Regions from separate parts of the Homo sapiens genome. Here region 2 is linked to region 1. The links are contacts of gene promoters, found by promoter capture Hi-C in human tissues and cell types (Jung and others, 2019). All regions are on one chromosome and are shown on one strand. Each heading gives the region's core, a stretch centred on a gene start or on the middle of the fragment in contact. The rest is flanking DNA. Distances are from core to core; before and after follow the strand shown. Region 1 has its middle 3.8 kb from the start of TPRA1. Region 2 holds the start of ACAD9 (acyl-CoA dehydrogenase family member 9).

What was found. Contacts are between HindIII fragments. The study calls those that stand out against the background at their distance.
Region 2: the fragment with the promoter of ACAD9 here is called in contact with a fragment that was not itself captured in region 1 in 1 of the 25 tissues and cell types used here (dorsolateral prefrontal cortex).

What each region holds. Positions count from the first base shown.
Region 1 is chr3:127,591,201-127,597,787 of GRCh38, forward strand. It overlaps a transcript of TPRA1 not described here. Among named protein-coding and RNA genes, the nearest start is that of TPRA1, 3.8 kb to the left of the region's middle. RefSeq lists a silencer at 1-185. The HindIII fragment of the contact is 5,167 bases long and covers 1-3,946 here.
Region 2 is chr3:128,878,194-128,884,154 of GRCh38, forward strand. ACAD9 (acyl-CoA dehydrogenase family member 9) reads left to right here and starts at 1,427. Exons shown (of 18, transcript NM_014049.5): 1 at 1,427-1,648. The coding sequence starts at 1,499. It overlaps ACAD9-DT (ACAD9 divergent transcript), which reads right to left and starts at 1,243. Exons shown (of 3, transcript NR_186174.1): 1 at 943-1,243. RefSeq lists enhancers at 297-1,148, 1,004-1,553, 1,149-2,001, 1,614-1,693, 2,002-2,853. The HindIII fragment of the contact is 32,484 bases long and covers 1-5,961 here.

The sequences.
Region 1 (6,587 bases), core at 113-2,612:
CCCTCCCCGGCGCCACGCGCTCCAGCCGCGCCACGCCGCAGGGCCGCCGCCTCCCAGCGCCCTGCTCCACGCGGCGCCGCCATGCCTCGGGCACTCCTCTTAGCAACCCTGCTAGGCAGTCATTATAGTCACCTTTTACAGGGCCACCTGAGGCTTGGAGAGGTCAAATAACTTGACCAAAGCCGCGCAATGAGGAAGCGACACAGCCAGGACGCCTCTCCCCAACTCTAACTTCCACAGTTCTTCACGCCTGTTCCTCTGGAAAGCCCTCCCTGATTGCGCCTGTCTTATCCCCTGGCATCGATGCTGCATTCACCATACTCAAGCCATGCGGGTCTCTGTTTCTGTCCCTCGGCTGTTCCAAGCTTGTTCCTGCTCCTGGCTCTACACCTGTTCCCCCGCAGAGCTGGCTCCTTGCCACATCATGTCCTCTAGAGGGTTTTGTGGACACCCTCGCTGGAGCGGCTGTCCAGTCTCATTTCCTTCCGAGCATCTTAATTCTCACCTGATTGTTTTCATTTACCTGCCTCCCCGTCCAGTCTCCCCACCCTATTATAGAATTCCAGCGTCATGAGGATGGAGCCAAGAGAGCCAAGCTGCAGGATGTCCCCTGCAGCATCCTGAGGCTGACTCAGAGCCTCGTGCAGATTGTAGGCACTCAGTTATTACAGGCACCCCAAGACTCACACCTTGCGACAGCACCGCTGGGCTGGAATGAGATTGGGTCCCATTCTTCTCCTTGCTCCTGTCCTAAAAACACAGGGAGATTGGGGAAGAAACCACCTTGTGATCCTCTGGGACTTTCCCAGCCTGGACCACACCCAAATGTGCATACCTAAGTTTAGGCTTCTATATTCGCCAGAGAGGCTGGGCAATGCCGGCCTGCGTAATCACGAATGACCACAGCCACAATGAGCCGTGGGGAATCCAGTGGCTCCTCAAGTTCCTCCCAGAAAGTTATACACATCACTCTCACGCACATTCAATTGGCCACCGCTTCTAGCCTCCAGAGGGCAGGAAACTGCCACCCTACCATGTGCCAGGAAGTAGAAGTCATGGGACATGTGTGACCAGGCCTAATAACTACCCTCTGTAAGGTTCTTGTATCGGTTCGAACCCTGCGAGCGCGCCGACACACAACACGAGGCGGTGTGGAGCAACATGCTGTTTTTTTTTTTTTTTTTTTTTTTTTTTTTGAGACGGAGTCTCGCTCTGTCGCCCAGGTCGGACTGCGGACTGCAGTGGCGCAATCTCGGCTCACTGCAAGCTCCGCTTCCCGGGTTCACGCCATTCTCCTGCCTCAGCCTCCCGAGTAGCTGGGACTACAGGCGCCCGCCACCGCGCCCGGCTAATTTTTTGTATTTTTAGTAGAGACGGGGTTTCACCTTGTTAGCCAGGATGGTCTCGATCTCCTGACCTCATGATCCACCCGCCTCGGCCTCCCAAAGTGCTGGGATTACAGGCGTGAGCCACCGCGCCCGGCCGCAACATGCTGTTTTAATGAGCGCCTGGGTGCAGGTGGGCTGAGGCCTAAAATGGCATCAGCCCCAAGTGAGGACGCGGCAAAGGTTTTATAGTCTCCTGTAAACAGGAAGTGTCCTAGTCTGACGTAACTGCTACGTTGTACCCGGATGGACTCTTTCTCGATCTTCACGGGTACATGTCTTCCCACCACGGTAGGTGTCTTCCAGCCAGCTCTTGTCCTGCTTCTGCTATCTTGCTGGCACAAGTAGCCTTGCACCTTGGAACTGGGCCTGAGAAGGGAGGAGTTATTCATCTTAAGCTTTCAGGCCCCAGGAAGAATCTTAAACCCTCTATTTTTATTTTTCTGCCTTTTGAGACTTGGAGAATTCTGCATTTTCTTCTCTTGAGTTTTGAACCCCATATCTAAGTTTCTGTGGGATTTTGTTGTATTTGTGAAATAACCAAAGGTATCTGCCTTTGAGAGCTGAGGCAGTGGCTAATTCACTGCAGTATCCACTACACACAGGACAGAGCGTGGCATCTGCAACATTAAATGAATAGTAGCTTAATAAACAGATCTGACTCTCAGGTTCTTCATCACCCTACAGCAGGCTCAGGGGTGGCCACGGCTGACAGTAGGAGATGCTGCTACAGAACTGGGCTCCCTGATAGCCATGGGGATGACAGCAATCCCCAGATAACAGACGCCAGATGGTAGTGCTTAGGCGTGAGAAGCAAAGTGGGTGCAACTGTCATAGGACCATCAAGATCAAGCTCAATATATCACTGGGATAGACATCCTGTGTAGTAAACAAAATGCCTGCACTGGTTCCTTGGTCTATGGGGTGAGAGTGATGGTAGTAAAAGTCAAGTGAAAGCCTCTGAGACCCCACTATCACCACCACCCACCCCGGCCAAGAGAGCAAGCACATAAACAACATCACACACCAGAGAAAATGGCGGAGACTGGTGCCACCCTTGAAGACCAAAGACGTGTGGAGGGTATCCCCCACCATGTACCTATTTAATTCATCAGTCTGACCTTATAAAAATAAACAGAGTGGCAATGGACTATTGCAGATTCAGCCAAGTGGTAGCCCTGACCACAGGTGCTGTGCAGGTGCATTGCTAGCACAGACAGATCAGCACGGCCCCCGCTTCTCAGGGGCCATCTGATCACCACACTTTTTCATCCCTATCAGGGACCATTTGCACTCATAGGAACGGCCAACAATACACACATATGGTCTTGCCCCAGGCCAATGATACCTTTCCCATCCTTTGTCATCACAGTCTGAAGGAGACTGGGCCATCTGAACGTCTTGCAGAACACTGCACTGGTTCATGGTGTCAATGACAATGTGCTAATCAGGATGGATGAGCAGGAGGTGACAAGTACATGGAAAACTTGATGAGACATATGTGCTCCAGCGGGCAGAAGATTAAACCCTATGAAGAATTAGGGGCTTGCCACATCAGTGAGGTTTGTAGGGGTCTGGTGGTGTGGGGCACACCAGAACATCCCCCTGCACACTCCATCACAGAAGAGCAAGCACAATGCTTAGAGGCCTCTTTGGGTTCTGGAGGTAGCAGATTCCACACCTGGGAGTGCTGCTCTGACCCACATATCTCTGGGTCACATGACATCAAAGGCTGTCCCTCAGGCTATGGGACCCACAGACCCCATGATACTAGAGGCATACATGGTGGGAAGATATGCTGTGTGAAGCTTACAGCAAGCTCTGGTGGGAAAAACCACAAAGTAGACCCCCTAGGGTTCTGGAGCAAGACCAGGTCATCTATAGTAGAGAACTAGACACCATTCACAAAGCAGCTCTGCCAGGCTACTGGACCCTGGTAGAGATGACTAGGGGACATCAAGTGACCATGAGGCCAGAGCTGCCCCTCATGAACTGGGTTCTGTCAGGCCCTCTAATATGTAAATTCAGGTGGGTGGGCCTAGCAGCAATCCACTGAGACTGTAAGCAATCCGTTGTACATCCACATCACCTACCACTGCCACAGCAGCTCCTCTGCCTCAGTTCACAACTACGCCAATGGGCAGTTCTTACGGAGGAAAAAGGCTGCGCTTGATCACAGCTGAGCTGGCTCAATACATGGGTCAGATGTAGTACCTGGATGTGCAGCGGTCGCATGGAGCCCTTGAGGATGAAAGCCACAGGCTACAGATGGTGGAACCAGAATGGGGAGGAGACTTGTCCTCGGCGATGTCCTGAAGCAGCTGCCCCAGCGCTGGATGCCTACTGACCTGGGAAGAGCAAACCCCAAGGTGATGTGTCCTGGAGCAAGTCCAGCATGACTGTTGGCTGGGGTCCCAGCTCCTCACTCCCCAAGCCTGTCCCAGGCTGCCTGAGTGTCCTCAAGACATGGATGCTGCCTTCTCTCAGAGTGAGCAAAGCTGCAGTCTTTTTGTAACTGAATCTCCAAAGTAACATCCAACCACATCTGTCCTATGCTGTTGGGAGGAGATCACACAAGGGTGTGAATACCAGAAGGCAAGGGCCATCAGGGCCATAATAGAGGCTGCCTACTCACCCCACCCACCTTTCTGTCTCTCCTACCCTGCCCCCAACCAGTGTTTAAACATGTCCAAGAACCTCTCATCTGAGAAAAAGCCATATCCCACTCCAGTGCCTGTCCCAGCTCTCACAGTCCATTCCACACCTGGGAATGCCTCTCTGACCCATACATCTTTGGGTGACATAAAAGCACTCCAGCCTCCAACTAGTAACTCACATTCACCCTTCTCACTTCCCTGCATCCTACCTGTCAACACACTTCAATGTAGTGTCTGACTCCAGACACACCGGCCAGCCCAGATCTGCTATCGCCAGGGCCACTAACAGCTCCTAGTCCTTATCAGATGACCTCTGGGCAGCCAGCTGACCCCATCCACCATCTTGACTGCTCTCTTCAGTGGCCTTTGGGAGGGCTCCTGATAATCCCCAGCCCTGCTAGGATCTCCTCTCCTTCAGTGTGGGCCGGACCTCAGGACTCACTTCTCGCTAAGAGAATATGGCAAAAGTAAAGGAATATCACTTCCAAGACATGGCATCTGTCTTGTATGGCCTCTCTCTCTTGTTCGCTTGCTCTGAAAGAAACCAGCTGCCAGGTTGTAAGCTGCTCTGTAGAGAGGCCCCCACCCAAGAGCCAGTGGGAAACTAAGTCTTCAGTCCAACAGCCTATGAGGACCTGAATCCTATCATGTGAAGAAGCTTGGAAGGGGATCCTCCTGAAGATGAGCCTTCAGAGGAGACAGCAGCCCTGGCCAATACCTTGCCTGCAGCCTTGAAAGACCTTGAAGAAGAGGCACCCAGTGGCATCGTGTCCAGATCCCTGATCCACAGACACCGAGACAGTGGGTGCTAATTGCTTCAAGGTGCTAAATCCCAGGATAATTTTTTTTTTTTTGAGATAGAGTTTCGCTCTTTTTGCCCAGGCTGGAGTGCAATGGCACAATTTCGGCTCACCGCAACCTCCACCTCCAGTGTTCAAGTGATTCTCCTGCCTCAGCCTCCTGAGTAGTTGGGATTACAGGCATGCGCCACTACGCCTGGCTAATTTTGGATTTTTAATAGAGACAGGGTTTCTCCATGTTGGTCAGGCTGGTCTTGAACTCCTGACCTCAGGTGATCCACCTGCCTCAGCCTCCCAAAGTGCTGGGATTACAGGTGTGAGCCACCATGCCTGGCCATCCCAGGATAATTTTTTATGCAGCAATAGATAACACAAGCCCATGCAGAGTCTCTTCAGCTTTCCTGTCAGCAGCTCCTAGCATCCGAGGTGCATCCTTCACATCCTTTGTTGGTGTCTCTTAACTGTTGGGGTTTCCCAGGTCCCAGGCTTAGACCTTCTCATCTCCCTGCACTCACTCTGGATTATACAACCACTCCCAAGGCAATCTACAGCTTCAGTCCAAACACGCCCTTGAGTCCCATACATGGATATCCAACAGCTTCCTGGATATGTCCCCTCGGCCCAAATTCAGCACAGCCAGAAACAAACTCATCTTCTTCCCCCTTAAATTGCTGGTCTTCCTGTGCGCTCCTATCTCAGCTATCATCCACCTAGCTAAGCCAGGATCCTGGTGTCATCCTGCATGCCTCTTTTGCTGTCCTCAATCACCAACACCTATAGACCCCACTTCCTGGCCGGGCGTGGTGGCTCACGCCTGTAATCCTAGCACTATGGGAGGCCAAGGCAGGCGGATCCACTTGTCAGGAGTTGGAGACCAGCCTAGCTAACAATGGTGAAATCCCATCTCTACTAAAAATACAAAAATTAACCGGGCACAATGGCGTGCATCTCTAATCCCAGCTACTCGGGAGGCTAAGGCACGAGAATCGCTTGAACTTGGGAGGTGGAGGTTGCAGTGAGCTGAGGTTGCACCACTGCACTCCAGCCTGGGTGACAGAGTGACTCTGTCTCAAAAAAAAAAAAAAGATTCCACCTCCTAAACATCTTGTATTTCCAGTTCTCTCCATCACTCCTGCCTCCCTACCCTGGGTCCCAGGCAGAGATGCTTGTTCACTGCACAAAGTGCCTGGCTAAGAGGGTTGCGATTCAGCCCTGCCTCTGCTCACTAAGGCTGCCTGGAACTAGACAAGAACCACAGCAACCTCCTCGTTTGCTGCCTTCAACCTCGTTCAATCCACTTCCACCTGGTAGCAGCCAGAGGGATTCTAAAACCCACACTAGTTCACGTCTCACCCTGCTCAAAATGCTTCCATGGCCTTCCATTGCTTTCAGAATACAGAATAGTCAAACTCTCTAGAAAAACATCTAGCTCTTTTTTGATCCGGATTTTCTCTCCCTCAAGTCTTGTCTGTTGCCCGGCATCATAAGCTCCTAGGGTTAGTTCTTAGGGAGGGGCTTGCACATCCGGGCCCTGCCATGACCTCTGCAGCTTTGCACATGGCATCCTTCTATCTGTAACATCCTCCCTGCGTCTTCGCTCCCCTGGGCAAAGATAACTCCTACTAAAGCCTCAGATGTGACCTCCTACAAAATCCCAGAGTTGTCCAGCTGCTTGAAGTATTGAGCCTTTGAGCTTTGGGAGAAGTTAAACCATTGTGCTCCTAAGACGGTAAGAAGCGTCAGAA
Region 2 (5,961 bases), core at 177-2,676, 1.3 Mb after region 1:
CCCTATGGCCTGGCCTTGAAACCGCCACTGCAAAATTATAACCGAGACAATGAAAGAGATCTGACCTAACCAACTCCATCTTGCTTCTAACCTCCAAGCTGTCCTTGTTCATTCCTGAGCGTAGGCTGAACTAACCTTGGGAAGGAATGAGTTTATAGTTTAACTTCAAAACAAAAATAGCCCTTTCCCGGGAAAACAACAACAACAACAACAAAAAACAACCTCTTCTTGCCTGGGACCAGTTGGCCTTTGGAGGACTAACAAATTAGCTATAAGATTAGAAATTACAGTTTAGAGGCCATACAGCCTTTGGTTGCAAGAGTCTGAACGTCCCCCAAATTGTTCCTGGGAATAACATCACTGTTGTAAAACCTACCAACACCCAGACTGGTAATCTGGCTCAACTAGTTCTGCAATCCCATTCAGGAACAGAAGACAGCAAGAAAAACTCACTTCGGCCCCCTATCAGTCCATCTCCAACCCGACCAATCATGCACCTCCCACTTCCCGAGCTTCTACTCGCCAAATTATCCTTAAAAATTCCGATCCGTTTTTGGGGAGACCGATTTGGCTAATAAAACTCCCTTTCCAACACACCCGGCTCTGCGTGAATTACTCTCTCTCTATTGCAATTTCCGTCTTGATAAATCAGCTGTCTAGTCAGCGGGCTGTAACCTTGGGCGGTTACAGCCTGGCCTGTCCCATCCCATCCAATAGTTCCCATCTCTTCTCAGCTCTCTCTGTAGTTTCTCTTCCTCCGCCTGCCTTTTAAGTTAGTGTTTCCCAGGACAGAGGTGACTCAGTTGTATCCAGACCGCTCTGTGACTGAACACCCACTTTCTTTTCCTTTTCCAAAAAATATATGTAACATACATGTCAACTAGGAACAAAACAGTATCTCAGGAATCCACCATCCAGTTAAAAATGGACCCTTACCCTTACCGTGCCCCTGCAGAGACCCCAATACAGCGCATTTCCCTCATTCTTTTGCTTTTCTCAAGTTTTACCACGGCCTCGTGGCCACAAGTGACAAAAGAGACAAGTGGAGGCAGCTGAGCCGGCCTTTAGGTTTCTGTACACAGGGAGATTTCCCATGGCTGGCATTTATGGAAACAACCGCTGGTATGTGAAAAACAGGTCCGTCACCGCCGTCACGACGGCCAGAGATTATACCCGCCGAGATGCCCGCGGCCCAGGGCCTACAATTTCCTCCGGCCAGCTCCTTTGGCCGCGCAAGCGCAGTGGGGCCGGCGGGAAGCGTAGGCGTGTGACGTCATCAGGCGGCGCGGGCCAGCCAGGTGCACGTGACTAAGGCCTTGGGCGCGGCAGGTGGTAGCCTTCCCGCCCTTCTGGCCTCTCCATCCCCTGCTGCGGGGGACCGCGCAAGCGCAGTGAGTACTGCACGTTGTCGCGGGCCAGTAACGTCATCAGACGTGTGTGTGTCCCTGCGGCGCTAAGAAGGGGAGACTGAGGCTGAGGCTGGGGAACATCGGGCAGCATGAGCGGCTGCGGGCTCTTCCTGCGCACCACGGCTGCGGCTCGTGCCTGCCGGGGTCTGGTGGTCTCTACCGCGAACCGGCGGCTACTGCGCACCAGCCCGCCTGTACGAGCTTTCGCCAAAGAGCTTTTCCTAGGCAAAATCAAGAAGGTAACGCGAGCCCTGGGCGAACCCTTGCTGTCTGGCTCCCGCTTTTCACCCTCAGCTGCAAGACTGGTGTTGAACTTTGTGAGATTCCCCAAACCTGCCAGAGAGATACACCCTGCGGCCGAGGCGTGTTAACACTCCGGATTCCTGAGTTCCAGGAAAACCTTCCCAGAGAAAGGGTGAGACATTTCCAAGACGGGGGACCCTTGGAAATGTGGTGGTGACGTGTTCCAGCTAAATTTTGTCAGGGGAATTCGGAAAACTCTAGGCTAGGTAATTAACAAAGCAGCCTTCATCTCAGCTGGTCTGGTCTGGAAATGTGCGGGGCTTCCTCTCTGATTCCTAAACAGCTTACACCATGTCCCTCCTCAGTCACCTTCCAGCGCCCTGGGGCTTCCTTCCCCAGGTGAGCCCAGCGCCTCTCCCTGCCATTGAGGTTCCTCAGAAATCTGGCTCCAAGATGCTTCCCAAGGGTGGCACAACCCAGCCAATAGTAACAGTTTGGTTATAAAACACTCATTGTCTTCTTAGAGTTGGAAGACTTGGGTTTGGTCTTGGCTCGTTGACTTTGAAACTCAGTTGTTTTTTTTGAGACAGAGTCGCGCTCTTGTCGCCCAGGCTGGAGTGCTCACTGCAACCTCCCTCCTGGGTTCAAGCGATTCTCCTGCCTCAGCCTCCGGAGTAGCTGGGATTACAGGCGCCTGCCCGGCTTTTTTTTTTTTTGTATTTTTAGCAGAGACGGGGTTTCACCATGTTGGCCAAGCTGGTCTAGAACTGACCTCGGGTGATCCGCCCACCTCGGCCTCCCACAGTGCTGGGATTACAGGGGTGAGCCACCGCGCCCGGCCAAGACTCAGTTCTTTCAGCCTTAAAATGGAGATAGTGTTGTGTCTCCTTCACAGATGTGTTGTAGAGCCCCAGTGAGATAAACGGTGCATGGAGAGTCTTCTTAAACTGTAGAGTACTGTGCAGCAGAAGAGAGAGCTGGCTTCAACACTTAGTCTTGTGACCTTGGAGCTGACGGCTGCACCTCCCTGTGCCTCAGTGCATTCATCTACAAAATAGGAATAAACACATTTCTTGCTCTTTCCTTTGTATTTCATTTTATCTTCTAAGGAAACCAACAGTATACTTGCTATTTCGTCGAGGTGCCCTACTTTGAACTTGGCTGAATGTTGGCTGATCCTGTATCACAGAAGTTATTCCCTGGCTTCTCTTTGGAACGTTCCTCTGAGGTTGTCAGGCTGATACCTTTATAGCAAGCAACTTTACAGATGAAGAAGCTAAGACTCAGACTAAAAGCAGTTTGCCCAGCTAGAAAGTGCGGAGCTATGTCTTGAACATATTGGAAAACCTTTTACCCAGGACCTGGGGCAGTGTGGTGCTCTATCCTGGGACTTCCTGCTATCCAGCAGCATGGTGAAGAAAGAACACAGATCTTTCAGATCTGTTTCCATCTTTAAACCTCTGGCACTACCTGCCCTGCCCTGCCTTTACTCTCAGCTGTCAGCTTTGCTTCCCATTCCACTGGGAAAATCCATGCAGTCGGATGAGAAGTTCACAGGCACAGTTACCCCCTCCCGCTGCATATGTGCCGGTATTATCTACATTCTGTTACTGTGAACTGTCTGCTCCTGGCAAAACCAACCTCTCATTAGACTCCAGGTCTTCTCACCTACTCAAGGGTAATTCTTTCCTTTCTCTGCATCATTAACTGTTCTCTCTACTGGATCTTGAGCCCTTACCATTCAGGCATTTGTCCCTAATGGCCATAGAAGTCAGTAATGACCTCTCTGTTATCAAATTGTGTGATCTGTTCTCAGACCTCATCCTACTTGACCCATCATTGGCATCTGACACCGTTCATCCTTCCACCCTGTTGACGCACTTTCGTCTCTGGTTTCTGAATCACTGTTCTCGCCATTCTCTGAATGTTCTAAATACTTCACTGGCTGATACTTCTCTGTGTCCATTGCTGGTTCTTATTCAGCTCCTTGACCGCTAAACAGTGACCAGTGTTTCCAACTAGCCAAGTTGGAATTTACTAAGGCTGGGTCTCGTTTCATCTACAGCCATCTGCTGGGTGACCTTATTTAGTGTCCTGGCTTTAAATATCATCAATATCCTGATGCCTCAAGTTTCTTTCTTCAGTTCAGATTTCTCCCTGAACTCCAGATTCCTTTTGCTTTTTCAGAGTTGGGGGCTTTCTCTGTCACCTGTGCTGGAGTGCAGTGGTGCCATCATAGCTCACTGCAACCTTGAACTCCTAAGGCTCAATAGATCCTCCCACTTCAGCATCCCCAGTAGCTGGGACTACAGGCACGCCCTGCCACACCCAGCCAAGATTCTTTTTTTAATCTACCTTTGTACTCAAAAGCTGTACTAAGAGGTCTAACAGGCATTTGAGATTAATAGATCCCAAACTGAGTTCCTGGTTCCCACCCAATCCTGCTCCTTCCACCAGCCTTCTTTATCATAGATAATGGTGGCTCTGTTGTTCCACCTGTTCAAACAGAACACCTGGAGTCACCTTGTACTCTTATTCTCCTAGTCCACTTCTAATTCCACAGAAGATCTGGTTTTCTCTACTTTTAGGTTCTTAGAATCTGACCACTTTTAGGCCCTTCTGCTGCTACTTTGGATCAGGCCAGTGTCATCTCTCACAGCCTTACTGGGATTAGAGCAGAAACATGGGACATGATGCTTAGAATCTCAGATTGTGTAGGCCAGTGGTTGTCACCCTGCCCTAAGCTGGACCCAAGCTATTCATGGAGTGTCCTGGAACTGCTGCAGGGATGGGTGGGAAGTTGAGTGGGTGGGATTTGGGTGCCTGTTTTCCCTATCAGCAGTCTCAGTCAGAGCCGCCTGCTTCTGTCTGTTTTACATATTTGGTTTCTGCACTAGATTTCTTTGAATAACAGGTTCCACTTTTTTAGATAATTTACAAACTGTTTATTGCAATTGAACTCTCCTCCCCTAAGGCATTGACCTGATTTGATAACATCAGGATCTTTCTCCCACGCCCCTGCAATCTCTCCTGTGTGGCAGGTTTTCTGTGGTTGTACCTGAAGGCCAATTAGTTGCCAGGCAGTCTTATCTGGCCTGCCCACTGGTACCAGAATGATCTCTAACACAGCCCATTGCACAAGACCCAAGTGTCAGTGAGCCTCTGTGTTCAGTGAAGGAGACTGAGCTTTGATATAAAAGGCTGCAGAGTGATGGAGCCATCAGCTTGTTTTTTTTTTTTTTTCTTGTTTTTTTTTTCCTTGAGACAGTGTCTTACTCTGTTGCCCACCCTGGAGTGCAGTGGTGCAATCACAGCTCACTGCAGCCTCAACCTCCCCAGGCTCAGGGGATCCTCCCACCTCAGCCTCCTGAGTAGCTGGAACTACAGGCGTGTGCAACCACGCCCAGGCTGGTTTTGAACTCCTGGGCTTTAAGCAATCCCCCTGCGTCAGCTTCCCAAAGGACTAGGATTACAGGCAGTAGCCACTGCAACCAGCTAAGCTTGTTTTTTTCTTTTTCTTTTCTTTTTTTTTTATGGAGTCTCACTCTGTCACCTAGGCTGGAGTGCAATGGCGCAATCTCGGCTCACTGCAACCTCCACCTCCCGGGTTCAAGCAATTCTCCTGCCTCAGCCTCCTGAGTAGCTGGGATTACAGGCGCGTGCTACCAAGCCCGTGTAATTTTTGTATTTTTAGTAGAAACGGGGTTTCACCATGTTGGTCAGGCTGGTCTCAAACTCCTGACCTCGTGATCCGCCCGCCTCGGCCTCCCAAAGTGCTGGGATTACAGGCGTGAGCCACCGTGCCTGGCCTCCAACCTTTTTTTTTTTCTATACCACCTTCAGGGTGGTTTTGGAATGGATGGAGGCAGGGATTCCTTTAAGTTGGCTGTCACTTTTAGTTAGGGACTCACCTATAAGCCTGTGGTCCTGGGCCCAGAGAGGAGAAAGCAGTGCGAGCATATTGATAGAGTAGAGAAATCTGTTGGCTGATTAGCTGTACAAGGTCTGAGGAGAAGGTTGAGGTCTCCCCAAGACTTCTCTAGAACACTTGGTGAGAGGCGCCATGAGGACAGGTGATGCTTGGGCTTATAGCTCTGACTCAGGACATCACTGCTCAACAGCCTGAAGCCCACATCCAAAGCTCATGTCATGCTGGCAATTGAAGGGGTAGCAGAGCCCAAAAGTCCAGAGGGGCTCAGCACAGGGAGCAGATGTCTGTGAGCAGGAGAGACAGCGGCTGTAGGGATCGATGAGACTTGGTAAGCATGATGTGCTCTTGTCAGCATAGCATCTTTGAGCTCACACAATA